Regions from separate parts of the Homo sapiens genome. Here all the other regions are linked to region 3. The links are contacts of gene promoters, found by promoter capture Hi-C in blood cells and fetal thymus (Javierre and others, 2016). All regions are on one chromosome and are shown on one strand. The core of a region is centred on a gene start or on the middle of the fragment in contact, and the rest is flanking DNA. Distances in the headings are between cores, read along the strand shown.

The links. The method cuts DNA at HindIII sites, captures the fragments that hold promoters and counts their contacts. A CHiCAGO score of 5 or more calls a contact.
Region 1: a fragment that was not itself captured here is called in contact with the fragment with the promoter of NOX1 in region 3 in 2 of 17 cell types (naive B cells and total B cells); the score reaches 6.7 in naive B cells.
Region 2: a contact is called between a fragment that was not itself captured here and the fragment with the promoter of NOX1 in region 3, in 1 of 17 cell types (total CD4 T cells). The highest score is 5.1, in total CD4 T cells.
Region 4: a fragment that was not itself captured here is called in contact with the fragment with the promoter of NOX1 in region 3 in 1 of 17 cell types (naive CD8 T cells); the score reaches 6.0 in naive CD8 T cells.

What each region holds. Positions count from the first base shown.
Region 1 is chrX:101,193,855-101,199,757 of GRCh38, reverse strand. No RefSeq gene overlaps it. Among named protein-coding and RNA genes, the nearest start is that of DRP2, 23 kb to the left of the region's middle. The HindIII fragment of the contact is 2,811 bases long and covers 600-3,410 here.
Region 2 is chrX:101,254,226-101,259,589 of GRCh38, reverse strand. It overlaps DRP2 (dystrophin related protein 2), which reads right to left. Exons shown (of 24, transcript NM_001939.3): 18 at 5,029-5,165; 19 at 4,666-4,731; 20 at 4,341-4,406; 21 at 3,329-3,472; 22 at 1,044-1,281. Among named protein-coding and RNA genes, the nearest start is that of TAF7L, 34 kb to the left of the region's middle. The HindIII fragment of the contact is 3,502 bases long and covers 2,364-5,364 here.
Region 3 is chrX:100,870,703-100,876,240 of GRCh38, reverse strand. NOX1 (NADPH oxidase 1) reads left to right here and starts at 1,882. Exons shown (of 13, transcript NM_007052.5): 1 at 1,882-2,146; 2 at 5,427-5,522. The coding sequence starts at 2,102. The HindIII fragment of the contact is 11,783 bases long and covers 1-3,684 here.
Region 4 is chrX:101,271,588-101,276,918 of GRCh38, reverse strand. It overlaps TAF7L (TATA-box binding protein associated factor 7 like), which reads left to right. Exons shown (of 13, transcript NM_001168474.2): 10 at 391-612; 11 at 807-919; 12 at 1,638-1,697. Among named protein-coding and RNA genes, the nearest start is that of TAF7L, 17 kb to the left of the region's middle. The HindIII fragment of the contact is 9,276 bases long and covers 1-5,331 here.

The sequences.
Region 1 (5,903 bases), core at 756-3,255, 320 kb before region 3:
AGGCTGAGGCAGAAAGATTGCTTAAGCCCAAGAGTGCAAGAGCAGCCTGGACAATATAACAAGACTTTATCTCAAAAAAAAAAAAAAAAAAAAAGAAAGGAAGAAAGAAAAGAAGAAAAATATTTAAAAAGACAATATCAATTTAAAAAAGAAAAAAAAATGGTTAATGGTCCCACTGAACACTTCAAGAAAAAAGTATGTTATCCCAGCATTCAAATTAGATAAGTAAAATAATTGCTTCTCTCTCAAATTGATTAAATCTTCCTCTAAACAGATTATTTTGCTTTTCTTTTGCTTAGATTTTTTGCTTTGGATGTGGTATCCAAGTATAATAAAGCAGAAGAGAGAATTTTCTTCCTACTCCCAGATATTAGTTTATGCCATACAGACATCATATATTCTTCAGAAGATTTGCTCTGACCCAATTCAGGATACTTTGTTTTTGGCAAATAATCTGAGTAAAAAATGCCATTCCTCACTCTGTGATTGTGTGTATATTTATACAGTTTTTAATTTCCCTGGGAGTACTCATACCCAGTTTGAAAAGCATGCCTTTAAATAGCCAATCTAGTCACAATGGCTAATTGACAGGAAAAGCTTTCAAGTGCTCAAAGGGATCATTGATCCTTTTATTTCGCGATGAGCAAAGAGATCCTTAGAGCTAATTAAATTATGATCCTAATATTCTTCCCTTTCATTATTAGCAGTATTTGGCCCTGATTTTTTTCCTGGAGCATGTGTACTCAATTAGGGGTGAGGGAAACACATGTTTTATAAAACAAAAGTGGTCATTATTCTCTGCTCCAATAAGAGTGTGTTTTATCTTTTATCATTAAAAGAGGAATCAGTATTTTTACCAGGAGTTTTCAAATACATTTTTCTTTGAAGAAAGTTCTGGTGTGTTTCAATTGTTTTAAACTAAGATTAAGCTCAGGGCAATAATTCAAAACGTTTAAATTATACATAGTGATTAGTTTTAATTTTTAGTGTGGGAAAGTGGTAATTGAAGACAACATTAATTTGGTAATGTTAAAGCATTAAGTGGAGAACAACCTTTCAATTTTCCTCACCCTAGTGTGATTTATTATATTATAGCCCATACTTGCAGTATCTATATTATCTGCTTCAAGGTATTAGATCTTATGATACTAATAATCTTAAAAAGGAGATATTTTTCTTAAGAGAGTACCAGGCACCAGGTGTGGTGGCTCACGTCTATAATCCCAGCACTTTGGGAGGCCAAGGGGGGCAGATCACCTGAGGTTGGGAGTTCGAGACCAGCCTGGCTAACATAGGGAAGCCCCGTCTCTAATAAAAATACAAAAATTAGCTGGGTGTGATGGCACGTGCCTGTAATCCCAGCTACTTGGGAGGCAGAGGCAGGAGAATCACTTGAACCCGGGAGGTGGAGGTTGCAGTGACCCGAGATTGTACCACTGCACTCCAGCCTGGGAGACAGAGTGAGACTCCATCTCAAAAAAAAAAAAAAAGAGACCGGATGCGGTGGCTCACGCCTGTAATCCCAGCACTTTGGGAGGCCAAGGCGGGCGGATCAGGAGGTCAGGAGTTCGAGACCAGCCTGGCCAACATGGTGAAACCCCATCTCTACTAAAAATACAAAAATTAGCCAGGCGTGGTGGCGGGCACCTGTAATCCCAGCTACTCAGGAGGCTGAGGCAGGAGAGTCACTTGAACCCGGGAGGTGGAGGTTGCAGTGAGCCGAGATCGTGCCACTGCACTCCAGCCTGGGTGACAGAGCGAGACTCCATCTCAAAAAAAAAAAAAAAAAAGAAAGAGTACAAGGAGCAGCTTGCAATACCATATGATTTTATTCTCAAAATGGTGTAATGAAAAAAACCCATAGACTCTGGTGTTAGTAGATCTGAAAGGCAGACCTGACTCCATTATGAATGACTTTGTGTGAATTATTCAATCTTTCAGAGCTTATAGTTTCTTCAACTGTAAAATGAGACTATTATAATAATGCCTGCCACACTGAAGAATCTGGATGAAAGGCATCCACACAATATCTTAGAATGTGAACTGGATATAATGCATGACAATATTTTTTTTTAGACAGGGTCTCACTCTGTCACCCAGGCTGGAGTGCAGTGGCATGGTCATGGCTCACTGTAGCCTCAACTTCCCAGGCTCAAGCAATCCTCCCTCGTCAGCCTTCTGAGTAGCTGGGACTATAGGTGTGTGCCACCATACCCTGGTAATTTTTTAATTTTTTGTACAGATGGGGTTTCGCTACGTTGCCTAGGCTAGTTTTGAACTCCTGGGCTCAAGTGATCCTCTCACCTCAGCCCCACAAAGTGTTGGGATTACAGGCAAGAGCCAGTGCACCCAGCTTGATACTATTTTTAAAATTCCAGTACAATTAGGCTGACAAAGGTTTAGGTTTGGGGTTTAAAAATCTAAAAATACTAAATAGTAAAAAATGCAGTATAAAGATTTTAATAATGGTCGTGGTAATCTAAGACTGACAGAACCAGTATTTTAATGGAAAAAAAGGTTACTTTTCAATTCCTAGAAATAAGTATTTCATTACTGAGAGAATAAGTGTATATCTGTTTGGGAAGAAGGGAGTGCACAGAAGGAAGAGATTATAGGTAAGCCTCTATATTCTATTTTTAATTTCTTTATTATTTATTTATTTATTTTTTGAGACGGAGTCTCGCTCTGTCACCCAGGCTGGAGTACAGTGGCGCGATCTCGGCTCACTGCAACCTCTACCTCCCAGGTTCAAGCGATTCTCCTGCCTCAGCCTCCCGAGTAGCTGGGATTACAGGCACACACCACCACGCCTGGCTAATTTTTGTATTTTTAGTAGAGACGGGGTTTCACCATGTTGGCCAGGCTGGTCTGGAACTCCTGACCTCAGGTGATCCGCCCACCTTGGCCTCCCAACATGCTGGAATTACAGGCGTGAGCCACTGTGCCTAGCCTAAGCCTCTATATTCTAATCCACTTGTTGTAGGGCCCTGATATGGGCACCCAAATGTAGCTTTAAAATATAAGGAGAATGACAGACAATAGTATATATGAAATATTCTTATCAAAAGATAAGATCTACTCTAATTAAACCTGTAGGGAAAAAAGGGACAAAGGAGCATGTTAAACAATATCATGAGAATAGAATGAGCAAACTCTAGAATGTGGGAAACTTAGGAAGACACCCAGTTTCTTCAACAAAAAAATTGCAAAAATAAAAAGGAACAAGGAGAACCTATAGATTAAATGAGGCATTAAAGACATATCAACCAAATGTAACCTGGGGACCATTTAAAATACCTGAATCAAACAAATGGTTATAAAAATACTTTGAGACAATCAGGGAAACATAAAATAGACATATATTAAGGCAGTATTGTTAATGTTTTTAGATATAATTATATTAACAAGCTTTTTAAAAGAATTATTGAGACAATATTAGCGAAAATGGAAGAGTAACGGCCCCCCAAATTCAGTCCTCCGTAAAATTTTTTTGAAGCCAAAACTAGTCAGAATCAACATTTTCAGAACTCTGGAAATTAACCAAAGGCTTGCAGCAACCTGGGGAATGTATTTTAAAGAAAAACACCTGAATCTCTGTAAGAAAAGTGAGCTTCACGTCATTTTAATTTGTCCTAGTTCCATCTCCCACTCTCTAGCTCTGCAGTAGCCTTAAAAAATTACAGTCCACATTTATGAAGAAAACCAGCAGCCTGACACGTGAGGGAGCAGAAAGAGGTGGGAGCTTATTCAAAGCCTCATTCCTAAACAACTGTCATTGTTATATATGTCTGGTGGTTCCCTGGAAAATACCACTTGCTCAGAGATAACACAGTGCAAAAAGCCTTCTCCAGGGGGAGTATTTGCCAAAAACAAATACAGGCAAGTGATTTAGCTTTGCAGCTGCCTAAGGCTGTGAATAACAGTTAAGGTACACAATAGACTAATAAAAAATCTTAAACAGAAAAATTGGGGAAGAATATATCTATAAGCACTTTGAAAACCTCCTACATTTTTCAGAAGATCTAGAAGGGCATAAGCATGCATAGGACTGTAAACATGCTCTGGAAAGACTCAAGAAGGCCCCACACTGTCATGTTTGGCTGACCTTGAGCCTTTGCACAATCAGGAAGTGAACACTAAGGCAGAGTTGTTAATGGCCTGGGTGATTGTTGAAAGTACACCCCAACATGCACACGGAGTTCTTTGACAAAGACTAGGAGATTTGCTGGTTCTGGGCATTTAAGAAGCTCTGTCCAATCATGAACTAATCTCTAAAATAGCTGAGTAGAGAATTCAGTGGTCACATATGACAAAGAATACAGACTAGTTCAGAGAAGTCACTAAAACAACCACCCACCCACATTAGTAAAAACAAGTCAAAACAACAATAAACCTTGGTAAAGAGAGAGCATCTGATTTCCAAAGTTGCCACATCAGATTATTCAAAAGTCTAGTTTTCAACAAAAAATGATGAGTGATACAAATAAATAAGAAAGTATGGCTGGGCACCGTGGCTCATGCCTGTAATCTCAGCACTTTGGGAGGCAAAGGCGGGCAGATCACTTGAGGCCAGGAGTTTGAGATCAGCCAGCTCAACATGGTGAAACCCCATCTCTACTAAAAATATAAAAGTTAGTCAGGTGTGGTGGTGCATGCCTGTGGTCCCAGCTACTTGGGAGGATGAGGTGGAAGGATCGTTTAAACCCAGGAGATTGATGCTGTTGTGAGCCGAGATTGCACCACTGCACTCCAGCCTGGATGACAGAGTAAGACTCTGTCTCAAAAATTAATAATAAAATAAAATACAGTACAAACGTATTTTTTGTTTATAACACTTTTTCTCTCCTTATTTAAAAGGCAACTGCATAAAACGAGATTTATAAATCTGTGTTAAAAGGCACCCAATGTATATACATATAATTTGTGGTAACAACAGCACAAAGGAGGGTTAGGATGGAGCTACTAAAGAACAAAATCTTCATATACTATTGAAATCAAGTTACTGTTCGTCCAAATTAGATTGTTATAAGTTAAAAATGCTAATTGTAATACTCAGGGCAATCACTAAAAATAATTTTTAAAAACACAGTAAGTGAAATAACAAGGGAATTAGGATGTACACTAGAAAATATCTATGTTCTATATGAGTTTTGTTTTTGTTTTGCTTTTGTTTGTTTGTTTGTTTGTTTTGAGACGGAGTCTCGCTCTGTCACCCAGGCTGGAGTGCAGTGGCACGATCTTGGCTCACTGCAACCTCAGCCTCCCAGGTCCTGGTTCAAGCAATTCTCGTGCCTCAGCCTCCAGAGCAGGTGGGATTACAGGCACCCACCACCGTGCCCAGCTAATTTTTGTATTTTTAGTAGAGACGGAGTCTCACCATGTTGGCCAGGCTGGTTTTGAACTCCTGACCTCAGGTGATCCACCCGCCTCGGCCTCCCAAAATGCTGGGATAACAGGCGTGAGCCACCGCAGCTGGCACTATATGAGATTTTTAAAGCATTATCCAACTATATGCTGTCTATAACAAAAAAACTTTAGATCCGAAGATACAAATAGGTAGAAAGAGAATAAAATATGTATGTATATATATATATATATATATTTTTTTGAGACTCTGTTGCCCAGGCTGGAGTGCGGTGGTACGATCTTGGCTTACTGCAACCTCTGCCTCCCAGGTTCAAGTGATTCTCTGGCCTCAGCCTCCCGAGTAGCTGGGATTACAGGCACACACCATCATGCCTGGCTAATTTTTGTAATTTTAGTAGAGACGGGGTTTCACCATGTTGGCCAGGCTGGTCTTGAACTCCTGACCTCAAGTGATCTGCCCACCTCAGCCTCCCAAAGTGCCTGGATTACAGGCGTGAGCCACAGCCCCTGGCCAAAACAAAGATTTTTTTATGCAA
Region 2 (5,364 bases), core at 2,865-5,364, 380 kb before region 3:
GAGGCGGAGGTTGCAGTGAGCTGAGATCGAGCCATTACACTCCAGCCTGGGCAACAAGAGCCAAACTCTGTCTTGAAAATTAATTAATTAATTAATTAATTAAATAAAGAATGGCATTGTACCTAAAGGTCTCTTGCTGTCATTTCAGCTATAATTAAGCTATTTAGAACACAATTCTCTCTGGAAATGTAGAGTTTCACACCTGATCCTTGGTTCATGACATAGCATATGTTAGAAACCTCCAGGAATCCATAGAGGCCATTCCTTGGAGGATCTGGGGAAGAGGCAGAAGAGTGGTATTTTCCATTACATATAATGACAATAATAGGTAACATTTATGAAGTGTGTACTAAATTCCTGGCATCATGCTAAATTCCATAAATGCATTATCTCCTTTTATGTTCACCACAATTCTATGAAGTTGGTACTGTTACCATCTCTGTTGTACAGATGAGGAAACTGGGGCTTAGAGAGGTTAACTAACTGTCCAAACACCCCACAGTCAATTGGCAGAGCCACATGCAAACCCAGAGCTGCCTGACTCCAGAGCTTTACCACAGCATACACATTGCCTCTCAGAGATGAAAGGTGCAAAAAGTAACAAGAAACACCTTTAGATAGCACTAATCTTTCTCTTGCCAAACTTGTCCCAACCCACTTCTTTCTAGCAAATACCATACTAGCAAAATCAATGTTTTAGATGATTTTTGAAGTTTGTTCTTTTAGTATGGGATTCCAATGGGTTGTGAAGAAATAAGCCCTCAGAAGTCTTCTCTCTGCCCCAGGCCCCACAGTGGCTGGAGAGTGACACACAGGGTGGCATGGAAGGTAGGTGGAAGAGAGTTGGCTGAAGATGTGACCATACCAGTCTCTTCTTTCCCCCGCCCCCCCACCAACCGCAGGCCCAGTTCTCTTCAGGAAGTTACCTGACAGCCACTGCCAAGGAGCTCTCTCTTGTGTCTTCTTTGCCACAGCCCTCAGCTCCCCAGCCCTTCCCCTGGGCTCAGAGGCCACCCTGGCTCTTTTCCTGTCTCCATCCTCACCTGCAGGAGAAGCTCCCTCAGACGCTGCAGCTGGGACTCTAGCTGCTTGTTGTGATCTTCGAGGATCTGCATGCGCGTCTCCAGGCGGCTCTTATGTTGCCGAAGGATACGGGCCTCGGCCAGAAGCTCCTCATTGCGGTGGTCTGTTGCTGCCTCAGTGGAGCCGTCAGCCAGACTGGGTGCCTCAGCTGCCTCCTCATGCTGCCACTTCAGGCGCCTCAGCTCTCCCTGGAGAATCCTGCCATGGAGAGAGACACCAAGACCTATGGCTCTAACAGGGCTCTGACTGTCCAGGTTTCAGATGTCCCCTCAGGCCTAGGTGTGAACAATCCCTGTGCTCTTCCACCCTACCTCACCCCCACCCCCATCCCCACCCCCAGCTGTGCTCTTGCTTGAATGGCCACATCCACTTCCTCTCCAGCACATATGTCATTTACTCTGCCATCCTGAGACCTCAGAGCAGAGAAAGTTGACATTTTGCGTAAGAAATGTCTCAGGGCTTTGATGTGCTGCTTTAGGGATTAATTCTGACCTTAAAATCAGGCAGAAACACAGTCTGCAAATAAAGGAGGCATTAGGGCCACTGACTCACCTACTCCATTTTTAGATGTTTAGATTCCAAGGGAAAACATAACATAAACAAGAGACCACCTGTCTTGCCTCTTCTCTCCACAATCCTCCTCTTTGGCCCACTTTGAACACCCATGCTGGGTCATCAAAAAAACAAATTCCAAACAGGTGGCCTACTTTTGGGGATATCACTTTTGGCTTTGTTCGTTTTTTCTTTATTTGCAACAGAACAGTCACTCTCAGCCCAGTGTTTCCCAGGGCCTGCAGACTGCTGCTCAAAGGCAGTGTTTCTCAAATGATTCATGGCAAAAATCCAGGTTTTTTTTTTTTTCACTCTGTTGTGGACCAGTATGTGGTCCCAATGCACATGACTAGTACATAGCTCACACCACGTAATTCATCACACAAGTTCAACAACACTCAAACTGGTCTCTACCCTATTCAACGAGATGAGCCTACTAATTTGGTGCTTGAATATCATAGCAATGTCAAATTGCTGTAAAAGTTTCTAAAAGCTTACTCTCTCTTTTTTTTTTTTTTTTTTTTTATCTTGCCTTGGACTGGTCACAAACTGGTCACAAACTGGCCCTGGTCTGCTCTCCAAACTCTGAGTAGCACTGTTCTAAAGACTTGCTACTCCAAGTGTGGCCTGTGGAACAGCAGTATGGGCATCCACTGGGAGCTAGTGAGAAACGCAGAAACTCAGGCCCCACCCAGACCTGTGACTTAGAATTTGTATTTTACCAAGCTTCCCAAGTGACTATCTTATGCACTACTGTTTGCAAAGCACTGCTCTAAGGGGTACTACGAATTCTACTTCATGCCCCATAAGAGGCTTGGACCCTCCTTAGGTACCTGCTGCCACCTTTACTTTATGGAAAGTCATGTCTTCCCTGTATTCTTCTTCACCATCCCTATTCCAGACCTCCAACGCTCTATGTAGTGTCATTGTCCTCTGGAATACTTTTACTAGGTGATACACATTTCTTTCCACTTCCAACATTGAAAGGTCTCTGAGGGCAGGAACATGTCATACCCTCTCCTGTTTTCTCTATGCATTCTCTCTGCTTGCATCTTGTGTGTTCTTGGAAAAATTTGGGTTACATTAAAAGGATTCAGGCCAGGCACAGTGGCTCATGCCTGTAATCCCAGCACTTTGGGAAGCCGGGGTGAGCAGATCACTTGAGGTCAGGAGTTCAAGACCAGCCTGGCCAACATGGTGAAACCCCGTCTCTACTAAAAATACCAAAAAAAAAAAAAATTAGCCAGGCATGGTGGTGCATGCCTGTAGTCCCAGCTACTCGGGACGCTAAGGCATGAGAATCGTTTGAACTCAGGAGCCAGAGGTTGCAGTGAGCCGAGATCACGACACTGCACTCCAGCCTGGGCAACAGAGTGAGACTCTGTCTCAAAAAAAAAAAAAATTTAAAAGTTTTCAAATAATTATTATAATAGCTAGCATTTATTGAACCCTTACTATAAGCCAGGCACTGAGCCAAACACATTATATGCCTGATCTCATTTGGTCTTCACAAGTGACCCTAGGAGGCAGGTTTGATGATCATCATCCCCGTTTTACAGATAAGGAAATAGAGGATTACAGAATATAAGTAACTTGCTCAAGGTCAGACAGCTAGGATGTAGAAGTGCCTGGACTTAAATTCAATCTGTCTGCCTCAAGAACCCACACAGATTTCTGCTATCATCACACCCACCGGTTCTCATCTTCCAAGTGGGCCAGGATCTTCTGTAGCTCCCCTTTGCTTTCTGTGGCCACACTGCATGGAGCCTGCTGTCCAAAGGCTGGCTCCCGGTCTGTGATGGGGCTGGAGTGCCGCAGCAGGTACTGGTCCTCGTCTCTGCATGGGTGTGGGGAAAGCAGAGTAGGTGACCAGTTGTTGAACAGAGAAACAACTCAGCTCTCAGCTCAGGCCCCAGGAAATGCATGCTGGAGGATTCACTTCTAAGTCACATCGAGAGGGAAAGGACATATACTGAGGCTTGAGAGGGATGAAAGTGTTCAAAGGAGGCAGAGGCTGTGGTTGGGGGTATTGAGAGAGTGTTTTCAGGATGCAGGTATCTGGGTTCTACTTACAGCCCACCCCCCTCCCCGGGAAACAATGAGCAAATCATTTCCCTTTCTGTGCTGTTCCCCTACTCTACCCTCCTTTGTTTCCTCTTCCTCTAGAGGGATCTGGGTCCCAGTCAGGGCAGATTGATCCATGTAGCCAGAAGCTCCTAGGACCTCTGAGCAGGGTGGGGACCTCCCTAGAGACACAAGGCCCCTTCTCTGGGCTGTCATACCAGGGAGTTCCCTTGGCTATAGTTCAGCCAAGTCCCTGATGTCTCCCAGGGTTAGTGTAGCACTAGATAGGGCTTTGGCATCTTGAGCACAAGATAATGGCTCCTTTCTGCAACTTCAGATGAGGGAGGGCATATTCTTCGTTCCTCAAAGTTGTGTATAGAAGGATGGGATCTTGCAACAGGAAGGGACTTGGAAAGATGGCAGAGAGCTAGTACATCACTCATTTCCTAGGTTGATTGATAGAGGGAAGACTGCCTTTCTTACTGAACACCGTGCCCAGAAAGCAGCCTTCCTTCCTTAGGGAGCTAAGGATCCTAACCACCACACACCCCCATTCCCTGGAGGATATACCCTTCCCAAACAGTGGCACAAAGATCTCAAGGAGAACTATTTCTGGCAAATAAGCAGCTGTGGAAACTCACATGCTGTCATCTGGGGACAAGCTGTCATTAAAGAAGGAGCAATTTTGACTTTCCATCTCAGCAAGCCTAGGAATAAAGAGCAGAGGCAGGAGAGAAAACAGGATGTGGGGCCTGCTTCCATCTCAAGGACTTTAATCTCACAGCAGGATCATTGGCTTTGAGAGCTGCCCCAACTACTCCTAAGTGTTGGGTCTTGCTGGCTGCTGCACACCCCACTGTGCACATCCCCTGGCCCTGACTCCATTCTCCTTGCCCCGACTGAAGATCCTTTCCCCTCGGACTTCCTACAACAGCTCCTACCCACCTCCCGCAAACCTGGTGGTACCTGCTGGCAAAATGCTCAATTCGGGAGTGTGTGTCGGCGTGTGGCCACATCGGGGAAGAAGCCGGCCTAGAAGAAAGCAGCAAAGACTCGGAGGACCAAAGACTGGGCAGCCTGTTTCCTCCTCCCTCTCCTGCTCCCTACATTATGGACATGGGCAAGAGCTGATGGGAACAAAATACAAAGACTGGATTCCAGTCTACTTCTCAGGCCAGAGTGCAGGTCAGGCCCAAGCTGAACGGCCCTATCACTAGTGGGATTTACCTTGGAACATTCTCCTAGCCCACTCGGGACTCAGCCCCTTCACAGCATACGATCGGGCTCAGTGAGGCTGCCCACAGCCCCTGCTCAGCCACCAGTACTCACGTCTCACTGTAGTCAGCCTCCAGCACTGATTGCACAGGCAGATAACCTCGCTGAGGGTGTTTGCTGAAATAATGCTTGGAGCGGAATTTGTTCTTTAAGGTTGTGGCAAAGTCCCTCATGTTCTCACTGGATGTGGTCTGAGGAGGAGACAGGGCAGAGGAACTTACCCTAATGGCTTCCAGATATACTGGGCAGGTGTGGCTGCTCTGCTAGAGCAGACAGCCTGCTGGGTAATCCACTCTTGCTCATGCCCACCATACCCTGCTCCTAGAAGAAGGTCTGGGAGGATATATGCCAAACTCAACACTGGTTGCCTCTGGGAAGTTGAACTGGAGG
Region 3 (5,538 bases), core at 633-3,132:
AGAGTGAGACCCTGTCTCAAAAAAATAAAAATAAAAATAAAAAGTACTTTTCAAAAATGATGCTGGGGCAATTCGTTTTCCATATTTAAAAGTAGTAAATTGGATACCATACATGAAAATCAGCTCCAGGTGGATTCAAAACATAAATGTAAAATGCAAAAATATAAAATTTCTAGAAGAAAATATAAAAGAGTATCTTGATATCTGGGTAGTGATGGATTTCTAAAACAAGACATAAAATGCATAAATCATAAAAGAAATGACTGGTAATCAGAGTGCATTAAAATTAAGAACTTCCATTTATCAGAAAACACTATTAAGAGACTGAAAAGACAAGCCATAAACATAAGCAATAAAAGATTAGTATAAGATTATAAACAGAACCCTAAGAATCTAAAAGCAAAAGAAAAACCAATAGAAAGATAGACCAAAAAGTAGAATAGGCTCAGAATAGGCTCTTTTAAAAAGAGAAAACTCAAATGGCCAGCAGTTGAATTAAAAGATGCTCAAACTCATTAGTAATCAGGGAAATGCAAATTAAAATCATAATACGATAGTTTTCCACACTTACTTGAATTATAAAAACAAAAAAGTCTGGAAAATACCAAGGGTTGGTAAGCATGTAGAGGAAGTAGAACTCTCATTCATAACTCTCTGTAGTATACATTTAGGTGGTCACTTCGGAACGGGTTTGGAATTACACAGCAAAGTAGAATATGTGCAAATCTCAGGACCCTGGAATTTTACTCCTGGGTATATACCTTAGAGAAACTGTAGCATATGTGTGACATTTGATCAACATTGTTCCATCATCATATCCATCAGTAGTAGGATGAATGAATACATTAATGTATATTCATTCATGCAATGGCATATTAGATAGCAGTGTAAGTGAACCGCAATTACATGTACATGTATGAATCTCAAAAACCCAATGTTGAAAGAAGCAAACCACAGAAGCATACATACACACTGCCAGGTTTCATTTACAAAAAGTTCAAAAACAGGAAAAACTAAACAATATATTGCTTAGGGATGCAATTATAGTTAGTAAAAATATAAAGAAAAATAACAGAATGATTACCCCAAATTTCAGGATAGTGATTACATCCGGTGGGGTAGAGGAGGGGAAGAAGATAGATGTGATCAGGGAGGGAAATACAAAGAGCTTTAAGATACTGGAGAAAAATAGTCTATTTTCTTTAATCTGAGTAGTGAACACATAGATACTTATTCCTTAAAATTATTCTTTAAGTTACATATGTATGTTTTATATACTCTTCTGTGTATATTTCACCATTTTAGAAAAGGGAAAAAAAATCAGTGCCCAGAGCTGAACACACAACTCTAGTAAATCTATCATACTAGAAGACAATCATCTCCATTCTTTTGAGTGCTCTGCCTCTGTTTATTTTGAACCAAAGTGCACTTTTATACTTGTTAAATTTTCTCTTGCTCTATTTGGCCCTTCTTTTCACTTGTCCTTCCAGCCAGTCAAGTTCTCCCCAAAGCCATCATCATATATGTCAACCACAGATCATCCTCCAGGGGAACTGGTATGCTAAAGTTTCTGAGCTAGCCAGGCTGAAATCCAAATGGCAGCCGGCAGATGTGGCAACAGTTTGAAAAGTGCACTTTGAAACAGCTTCCTTACCACACACGCTTCCCTCCCTACTTCTCCTGAAGTAATCTGTTTACAGACCCAGACTAATAATCTTTTTTATGAGAAACTTTAGCAAATCTTTTATCTAGGAAGGCAATGCTTCACATTAGGTCATGTTGATAAGATGATGAGAGAGAATATTTTCATCCAAGAATGTTGCTATTTCCTGAAGCAGTAAAATCCCCACAGGTAAAACCCTTGTGGTTCTCATAGATAGGGCTGGTCTATCTAAGCTGATAGCACAGTTCTGTCCAGAGAAGGAAGGCAGAATAAACTTATTCATTCCCAGGAACTCTTGGGGTAGGTGTGTGTTTTTCACATCTTAAAGGCTCACAGACCCTGCGCTGGACAAATGTTCCATTCCTGAAGGACCTCTCCAGAATCCGGATTGCTGAATCTTCCCTGTTGCCTAGAAGGGCTCCAAACCACCTCTTGACAATGGGAAACTGGGTGGTTAACCACTGGTTTTCAGTTTTGTTTCTGGTAAGTGATGTTTGACTTCCTATTAATTAGGAAGGATTAAGGAGAAATCATGTTTTTTAATATTTGTAAAGCAATTTGAAAGAGAAAGATGATTCCATGCCGATTATTGGGCTCATCAAGACCAGTTAGTTAAAAAATACAACTGTGGGTCAGATGAGAGGACAGAGGCAAATAACATGCAATTGTTCATGTTGTCAAATCACAAGTATTTGGAATTTCAATCTGTTTTCATTTTCTGTCATCTCCCTTTCTCTTCCATCTCACTTCTAACTACTACCATGAGTGCTGATTTCTCTCTATCTTTCCTATACTGGTCCCATCAAGATTTCAAAAAGTCACTGAATGTTTGAGATGAAAGTGATCTTAGAGATCATCTGGCCCAGTACTGACCACTAGAAATATAGCAAACCACATAATGTAATTCCTAAATTTTCTAATACCTACACCGAAAAGGTAAAAATAAACAGGTGAAGTTAATATTTAACAATATAATTCATTTAACCCAACATATCAACAAATCCTTTCAGTATGTATTCAATATTGAAAATATTAAGAAGCTAATTTACATATTTTTATTTTTACTGAGTCTTTCAAATCTGATGTGTATATATACCCACAGCACATCTCAGTGAGGACTAGCCACATTTCAAGTGCTCAGCAGCCCCATGTGGGTAGTGGCTGTGGCATTGCATAGTGCAGATGTAAACCAACTTATTGATTGTACAAAGGAAAATAAGACCTAGATGTCACACAATGAATTGACTGAATTGGCATCACTCGAACCCAGCTCCCCAATGACGTTCAGGCCAGAACCCCTTTATCACCCTTTGTATGCACAATCCCTTTCTCCTAACACTCTAACACCTCTCTCCACTCTCATTCTTCCATTTCTGAGCCACAGTTGAGCCTGGGGCTCCCTGTGTCCTTTCTCACTTTCCTAGATCTTCATTCATTACTCTTTCTCTTTTCTCCTGTTTTGCTTTTGGGTCCCACAGGCAAAACAGAAGAGAGAAGGTGTGATGCTTCTTTTTATTCCTGTCTACCCCCCCGCCCCCCGACCAGGTGCTCCAGGGAAAAATATGTGGAGTTTCCCTGGAGGGTTGTTTGTTTTACATTTAACAAAAGTGCTTATTTTGTCAGGTTATCCCATGACATATTTTAAATGCTCAATGCCTTATATTGAGTTCCTTTTGCACTATAATGGAAAGAACACTAGTTTAGGAGAAAGGGAACCTGGCAAGTACTTTGAATTCTGCTACTAACTGGGTGATCTCGATCAAATTATTTATCCTCTCTAGACTTCAGGTCCTGTGGGTGTGTAGGTGGGGGGAATTGGGCAGGGGAGGGGAGCAGGGGATTAATAAAGTGACTAGATTAGATACAAATATAAGGGTGTTTCTAGCTCTAAAATCCACATTTACCTGCATTTTTTCCCCCTCTCTTATTTTTTGCTGGGAGAGTTTACCAGCTATGATGGTGACTCACATTTAACTCTCTAGCTTTGAATTTTCATCCCCCACCAAACCAGCTGGCAAGCTTAGACTTCTCATTATCTCTGACATATACTCCTATGCACTGATTTTTAAATAAAAAATAAATTACTTAAAAATAGTTTTATTCCTCCTTCCTCCCAGGTCTTGTAGTTTACCTTCTTTGACGTTCATAGTGGAGGAAATGACAGCTAAGATGGGGAATGGAATGCCTTACTCCTAGATATCACTGTATTTCATCATTTGCCTTGCCTACAATTGATGATGGGCTGACACAGTTATTTGCCCCTGTGTCTCTTTGCGATCCAGAAATATTTCTGCTCCCTCTAAATAAACTTCTCTCCTCTGTCTTCCAAATTCTTGAGGTGTCTGTGACTGTTGACTTTCTTTTCTTTCAAAGACGTTTCTCTGGAAGACACTCAGCTCTGGAAAAGGGTAACTGAGCAAAGGAGGCAGGAAGAAATTGATTGGTAAAGCAGGTTCGGTGGTGACACAACTCTGTAGCTAGCACTTATTGATCTCTTACTAAGCCCCAAGCATTGCATTAATCACTTTACACGCATTATCTGACGTAAGCCTCATAGCATTACTATAAAGTAGGTCCTGTTATTATCCTCATTTTGCAGGTGAAGAAATTGAGGTTTAGAAAATTTAAATCATATGTCTGTCTGAGATTATAGAGCTATTAATTGGTGATGCTACAACTTGACTCCAATATCACACTTTAAATCACTATATTATAGTACTAAAGGTGTGTGAGTGGTCTAGATCTAGGGAGTCTGAATAGGCCATGTCCTAGGCTAAAGGCCCTTTGCCTGTTGTGCTGAGATGGTTCTGACTCATACTGTGGGGCGAGGGATATATACTAGCGCCCTGGAGACCTGTCGAATTACAGACTAGCACCTCCACACTTGGGCTAGAGACCAGTTGGTTGGTCCTCAAGGCAATGGGCAGTGAGTTCCAAATTTCACCTTTAGCCAGTGCAGAGACAGAACTTGGAACAGGCAAAAGCAGTCTTAAGAGCTCAAAAAAGTCCAAAGGAAAAATAGATTAATTTGAAAAAAGACTCACAATCTGAAAACAGAAAAATGTGTGTCAGGGTGTAATTAAAAAGGCAGGCCCATCTGGAATGGTTTAGTTCTTTTCAGTTAGGTATTGTTATAGGTGCTAAATTTGTTCTTTGTTTCTTCAGATATCCATTTATTCACTTATTGCCATCTTTTAGGTGCAACAGTTTGAATGCTCTAGTCCAAGAAATGGCAAATGTTTCTGTAAAAATCTAGATAGTACATATTTTAGGCTTTGCAAGCCATATGGTCTCTGTCCCAACTACTCTACTCCGTCATTGTATCACAAAAACAGCCATAAACAATACAAAAATGAGTAGCAGTGGCTAAGTTCCAATACCACTTTATTTATGGTCACTGAAATTTGAATTTCATATAACTTTCACATGCCACAAAATATTCTTCTTTCGATTTTCTCAACCATTAGCAAATTTGAAAATATAAAATATAAAAAACAATTCTGAGCTTGCAGGCTGTGGCAAAACAGGTAATGGGCCATGGGCCTCAGTTTGCTGACCCTGCTCTAGTCTAATGCATGTCTCAAAGTGCTAACTCACTCTGAAAGCCAGTTAGATACTAGCAGGATTGCACTCATTTAAAATGAAAACAGGTAAACACAAAATAGCCAAAACGGCGACACTATTGCTATCCCTATCCCTTATTTACTCCTTCCCATACTCAAATTTCACTTTATTCTTTGCATGTTTTTTTTTCTTTCTCTAGGTTGTTTGGTTAGGGCTGAATGTTTTCCTGTTTGTGGATGCCTTCCTGAAATATGAGAAGGCCGACAAATACTACTACACAAGAAAAATCCTTGGGGTGAGTATCACGGTTG
Region 4 (5,331 bases), core at 1,218-3,717, 400 kb before region 3:
GCTTCAAGTGTTCTGCCCGCGTTGGCCTCCCAAAGTGCTGGGATTACAGGCATGAGCCACCACACCCAGCCCTTCTTCCCTCTTATTGGTCTCTTGGCAGTTTAGGGGTTTTAGATTAGTGTTCTAATCTCCCATCCACCCCTGGTATTTTAACTTCCTATGACCCTTAGAGTCTCTAAATATCTTGATCATTCACTACATGAATGAATGTTACAGTGTTTTGCATTTGCTGTCCTTGTTTTATAAAGGGAATAATCTTCCTGCATGAAAAAATGATTTATAAAATTCACTGGTTGCCTGGGGAATGTGAAAGGAGTATAATTATATCTGGAGTATGAGTCATTTGCAGAGTTTTAGATAGTTCACCTTCTTCTTGCTTAAAACTAGTAGAATATGATATGCTTCGGGAGATGTTCAGTGATTCTAGAAGTAACAATGATGATGATGAGGATGAGGATGATGAAGATGAGGATGAGGATGAGGATGAGGATGAAGATGAAGACAAAGAAGAGGAGGAGGAAGATTGTTCTGAAGAGTATCTGGAAAGGCAGCTGCAGGCCGAGTTTATTGAATCTGGCCAGTATAGGGCAAATGAAGGTACCAGTTCAATAGGTAAGTCAGAAAAAACAAAGGGATGGGACCAGGGTGGGTGGCAGTGCTAACAGTTGACTCTAAGCATACATTAGACTCAAAGCTAAGCTCAAGAAGTTATCGCTTCGATGTGTAGTAGAGTTTTACTTGATTTGGATCTTGGTCCATTCATTTAGGCTATATTTAATATATAAAGTTCTATGTTTCTCTATTAGTCATGGAAATTCAGAAGCAGATTGAGAAAAAGGAGAAAAAGCTCCATAAGATTCAGAATAAAGCACAAAGACAGAAGGATCTCATCATGAAAGTGGAAAACCTGACACTCAAGGTAAATTCTTGGCTGGCATAAAGAAATCCTGATATCTTACTTTCAGTATCTTGCCTTTGTGTTTCCACTTATGTTATCTCTGTGCAGGGTTCTTGTTCATTCATGAACCTAAACAGCCTCTTAGAAACTCCTAATAAAAGATAACCCTGTTTCCTTTTACCTGAGTAATTTTGATCATCTAATATAAGCATTTTGGGGAAGGGACTAGGTGATATGAGATAAAAATTGCCAATATTGAGCATTTGCTATGTAAAAGGCACATAAAGGGCTAAGAATTGTGTACACATATTATCACATTTTATCCTCACATCCTTGAAACGTAAATACTGTCACCACTCCCATTTTATAGATAAAGAATGGAAACTCAAAGAGGTTAAGTAACTTGCCAGGGATCACAGTAAATGATCCCTGAGTAAGGGATCTTTTAGTAGAGATGAAACCTCATCTCTACTAAAAATACAAAAATTAGCCAGGCCTGGTGGCATGCTCCTGTAATCCCAGCTACCCAGGAGGCTGAGACATGAGAATCACTTGAGCCTGGGAGGCGGAGGTTGCATGAGCCAAGATTGCGCCACTGCACTCCAGCCTGGGTGACAGAGGAAGATTCCGCCTCAAAAACAAAAACAAAAACAATTATTTGCCAAACTCCTTGCCTCCCTTGGTTTTTTTTTTTTTCTTTGAGACTCAGTGTTCATCATTTATACAATTTATTTTTCAGAATCATTTTCAGTCTGTGCTGGAGCAGCTTGAGTTACAGGAAAAACAAAAAAATGAGAAGGTAAGAAGTATGTTTTCAAATTAACCAGAAAACATTTGATACAGAGAATCCCCCACTTCAATTCCAATATCATTGCTGGCTGTTCCTCTCATAGGAATAGTGGTAGCCAAATCTTCTAAATGAAGGTAGCAGGGTGGAACAAGGTCTTTGTGAAAATTCACTCATTCAACAGATATTGAATGCCTATGAAGTGAAAAGCACTGGATGTACGGTGTTGAATAAGACAAATGCAATACAGTAAATCCTCAGTGTCATTGATAGGTTCTTGGAAACTGTAACTTTAAGCAAAATAATGTATATATAATGAAACCAATTTTACTATAGGCTAATTGATATAAAGAAGAATTAAGTTCCTATAGCATATTTCTGGTCACAAAAACATCACCAAACTTCTAAATAAAAACCAAAACGCTTCTAATAATTAAACGTTGAAATAAATGTGAGCTATACATACATTTGAGAAAGACTGATAAAAACAAGTAAGACAATTATGTACCCAGTGATTCCAGTTCAGGGTCTCAGATGGCCAGAGCCTATCCCAGCAGCTCAGGGCACAAGGTAGGAACCAGCCTTGGATAGGATGGCATCCCATTGCAGGGCACACTCACACCCACACTCACACCCACACTCACTCAGACTGGGACAATTCAGACAAACCAATTCACCTAATGTGTACAGGGAAGTGATTTTATTTTTCTCATCAACATTATAATGAGGCCAGGAGTGGTGGCTCATGCATGTAACCCCAGTATTTTGGGAGGCCGACGCGAGAGGATTGCTTTAGCTCAGGAGTTTGAGACCAATCTGAGCAACATGGTGAAACGCTGACTGTACAAAAAATTAGCCGGTTGTGGTGGCATAAGCCTGTAGTCTCAGCTACTCAGGACGCTAAGGTGGGAGGATTGCTTGAGCCCAGGAGGTTGAGGCTGCAGTGAGCCATGATCACACCACTGCACTCCAGCTTGGGCAACAAAGTGAGCCCCTGTCTCAAAAAAAAAAAAAATTATAATGAAATGACATTGAACTAACAATGTTATTTGGAGACCTTTTGCATGTCATTTTGCTTAAAGTTGCAGTTTCTAAGAACCTATTGATGACATTAAGTGAGGACTTACTGTAACAAAACGACATTGGACAAAACGATGTTATTCAAGGACCTGCTGTACTTATCCTCGTGGAGCTGTCTAGCAGGGGAGATTGACAATAAACAAATTATACAAATATAAAGTTACAAATTGTGAAGAAGTGCTATGAAGGAAAAAAGTCAGTGGTGCTATTAGAATAAAGGGTCTTGAATTAATTGGGGGATCATGATAGACCTCTCCTAGGAGGTGCTATTGAAGCTGAGACCGGAAGGATTAAGTCCAGGCAAAGAGTGGGATGAGGAGCCTCTTAGGTGGAGCGTATGCAAGGTCTCATGCTCAGAAAGAACTTGGCTTCTTTGAGGACCTTTGGAGTATTTAAAGCCAGGAAGAGAATGGCTTAAGATAAGGTTGGAGAAGTAGGCAGAGACCATAGTGTATGGTTCCTTGAAGGCCATGATAAGGAGGATGGGTTTGGCCTTAAGTGTAATGTGAAGTCCTTGAAGAATTGTAGATAGGAAAATCACATCTAATTTAAACTTTTTTTTTTTTAAATGGAGTCTTGCTCTGTCGCCCAGGCTGGAGTGCAGTGGCACAATCTAGGCTCACTGCAACATCCGCCTCTCGGGTTCAAGAGATTGTCCTCCCTCAGCCTCCCAAGTAACTGGGACTACAGGCACGTGCCACCATGCCCGGCTAATTTTTTGTATTTTTAGTAGAGACAGGGTTTCACCGTGTTAGCGAGGATGGTCTTGATCTCCTGACCTCGTGATCCACCTGCCTTGGCCTCCCAAAGTGCTGGGATTACAGGCGTGAGCCACCACGTCTGGCCTAATTTAAACTTTTAAAAGGTTACTCTGATTATTATCTGGAGAATGGGTTGGAAGAAGGTGAGAGTAGAAGCAAAGAGGCTGGTTGGGGGGCTTTGTGGTACTCTAATAACAGAGGATGGTAACTTGGACTAAGTTAGTAGCAATGGAGATTGAAAGAATATAGATTTTTAAACTGCAATAAAAATGTTTTTATAACAGATGTAATTCATAAACCATACAATATCACCCATTTAGGCTGGGTGCGGTGGTGCGTGCCTGTAATCCTAGCGCTTTGGGAGGCCAAAGTGGGCAGATGGCTTCAGCCCAGGAGTTCGAGACCAGCCTGGGCAACATGGTGAAACCCCGTCTCTCCAAAAATTAGCCAGGCATGGTGGTGTATGCCTGTAGTCCCAGCTGCTCGGGAGGCTGAGGTGGGAGGATTGCTTGAGCCTGGGAGGCAGAGGTTGCAGTGAGCAGAGATCCCACCACTGCACTCCAGCCTGGGTGACAGAGTGAGACTGCCTCAAACCCCGTCCTCCCCACCCCCGACAAGTCACCCATTTAAACTATACAATTCAGTGGCTTTTAGCATATTCAGAGTTGTACAACCACCACTGCAGTCAATTTTAGAATAGTTTCATCACTCCAAAAAGAAACCCTGTATCCATTAGTAGTCACTCCCCACTTCTCCAGAACCTCTCCCCTGCCCAGCACTAGGCAACCACTCATCTAGTTTCTACTAATCTACTGCCTATTCTAGTTATTTCATACAAGTGAAATCATATAATACATGGTGTTTTGAGTCGGGCTCCTCTCATTTAGCATATTTTCAGGGTTCATCCATGTTATGGCATGTATCAGTACTTTTTTCCATTTAAAACTGACTAATACTCCATTGGATCAATATACCACATTTTGTTTATTCATTCATCTGCTGATGGACATTTGGGTTGCTTTCACTTTTGGCTATTATGAATAATGCTGCAATGAATATTGATATATTAGAGAATATACTTTAAAGGTAGAATTGACAGGAGTTGGGTCAATTACTGGGTGTTGAAGGAGAAGGAATCATTAAGGATGTATGTATTTCTAACTTGAACGACAACTGTATTTTTCAAAGCCACAAGAGAGTGTACAGGGCGAAGAGAGAAGAAGGCAATATAGGCTAAATGAGGGTCAAGCAGCTGTATAGAAAATGTGTGCTGACTCTAACCTTATACTGTTGAGGGTTACAATTTTAAAGAGACTGGAGTTGGTATTATGAGGATGGGCTTAGCATGGTGCTCTTGAAGTACAGGCACTACTCCCCACCCCCATCCCCACAAGGCTAGCGGAATTTTTATGTTCTATATATTCCCTTCCTCTCAGCAAATCACTTATCCAAGTACTGCTTAATACTGCTTTAAAACAATCAGATGAACAGTTAATGCCAGGATTGTTTTAGTACCCACCAAACATCTTTGTTTTCATCAATGTAAGTACAGTTGTATGCTGCATAACAACATTTTGGCCAATGACAGACTGCATATATGATGGTAGTCCCATAAGATTATAATGGAGCTAAGAAATTCCTGTCACCTGGTGACACTGTGGCCATCATAACATAGCAGCAGAATTACTTAATTTTTAAATTATTTTACTATAGCCTAAGTATATAGTGTTTATATAGTCTTCAGTAGTGCATAGTAATGTCCTAGGCCTTCACATTCACTCACCACTCACTCACTGACTCACCCA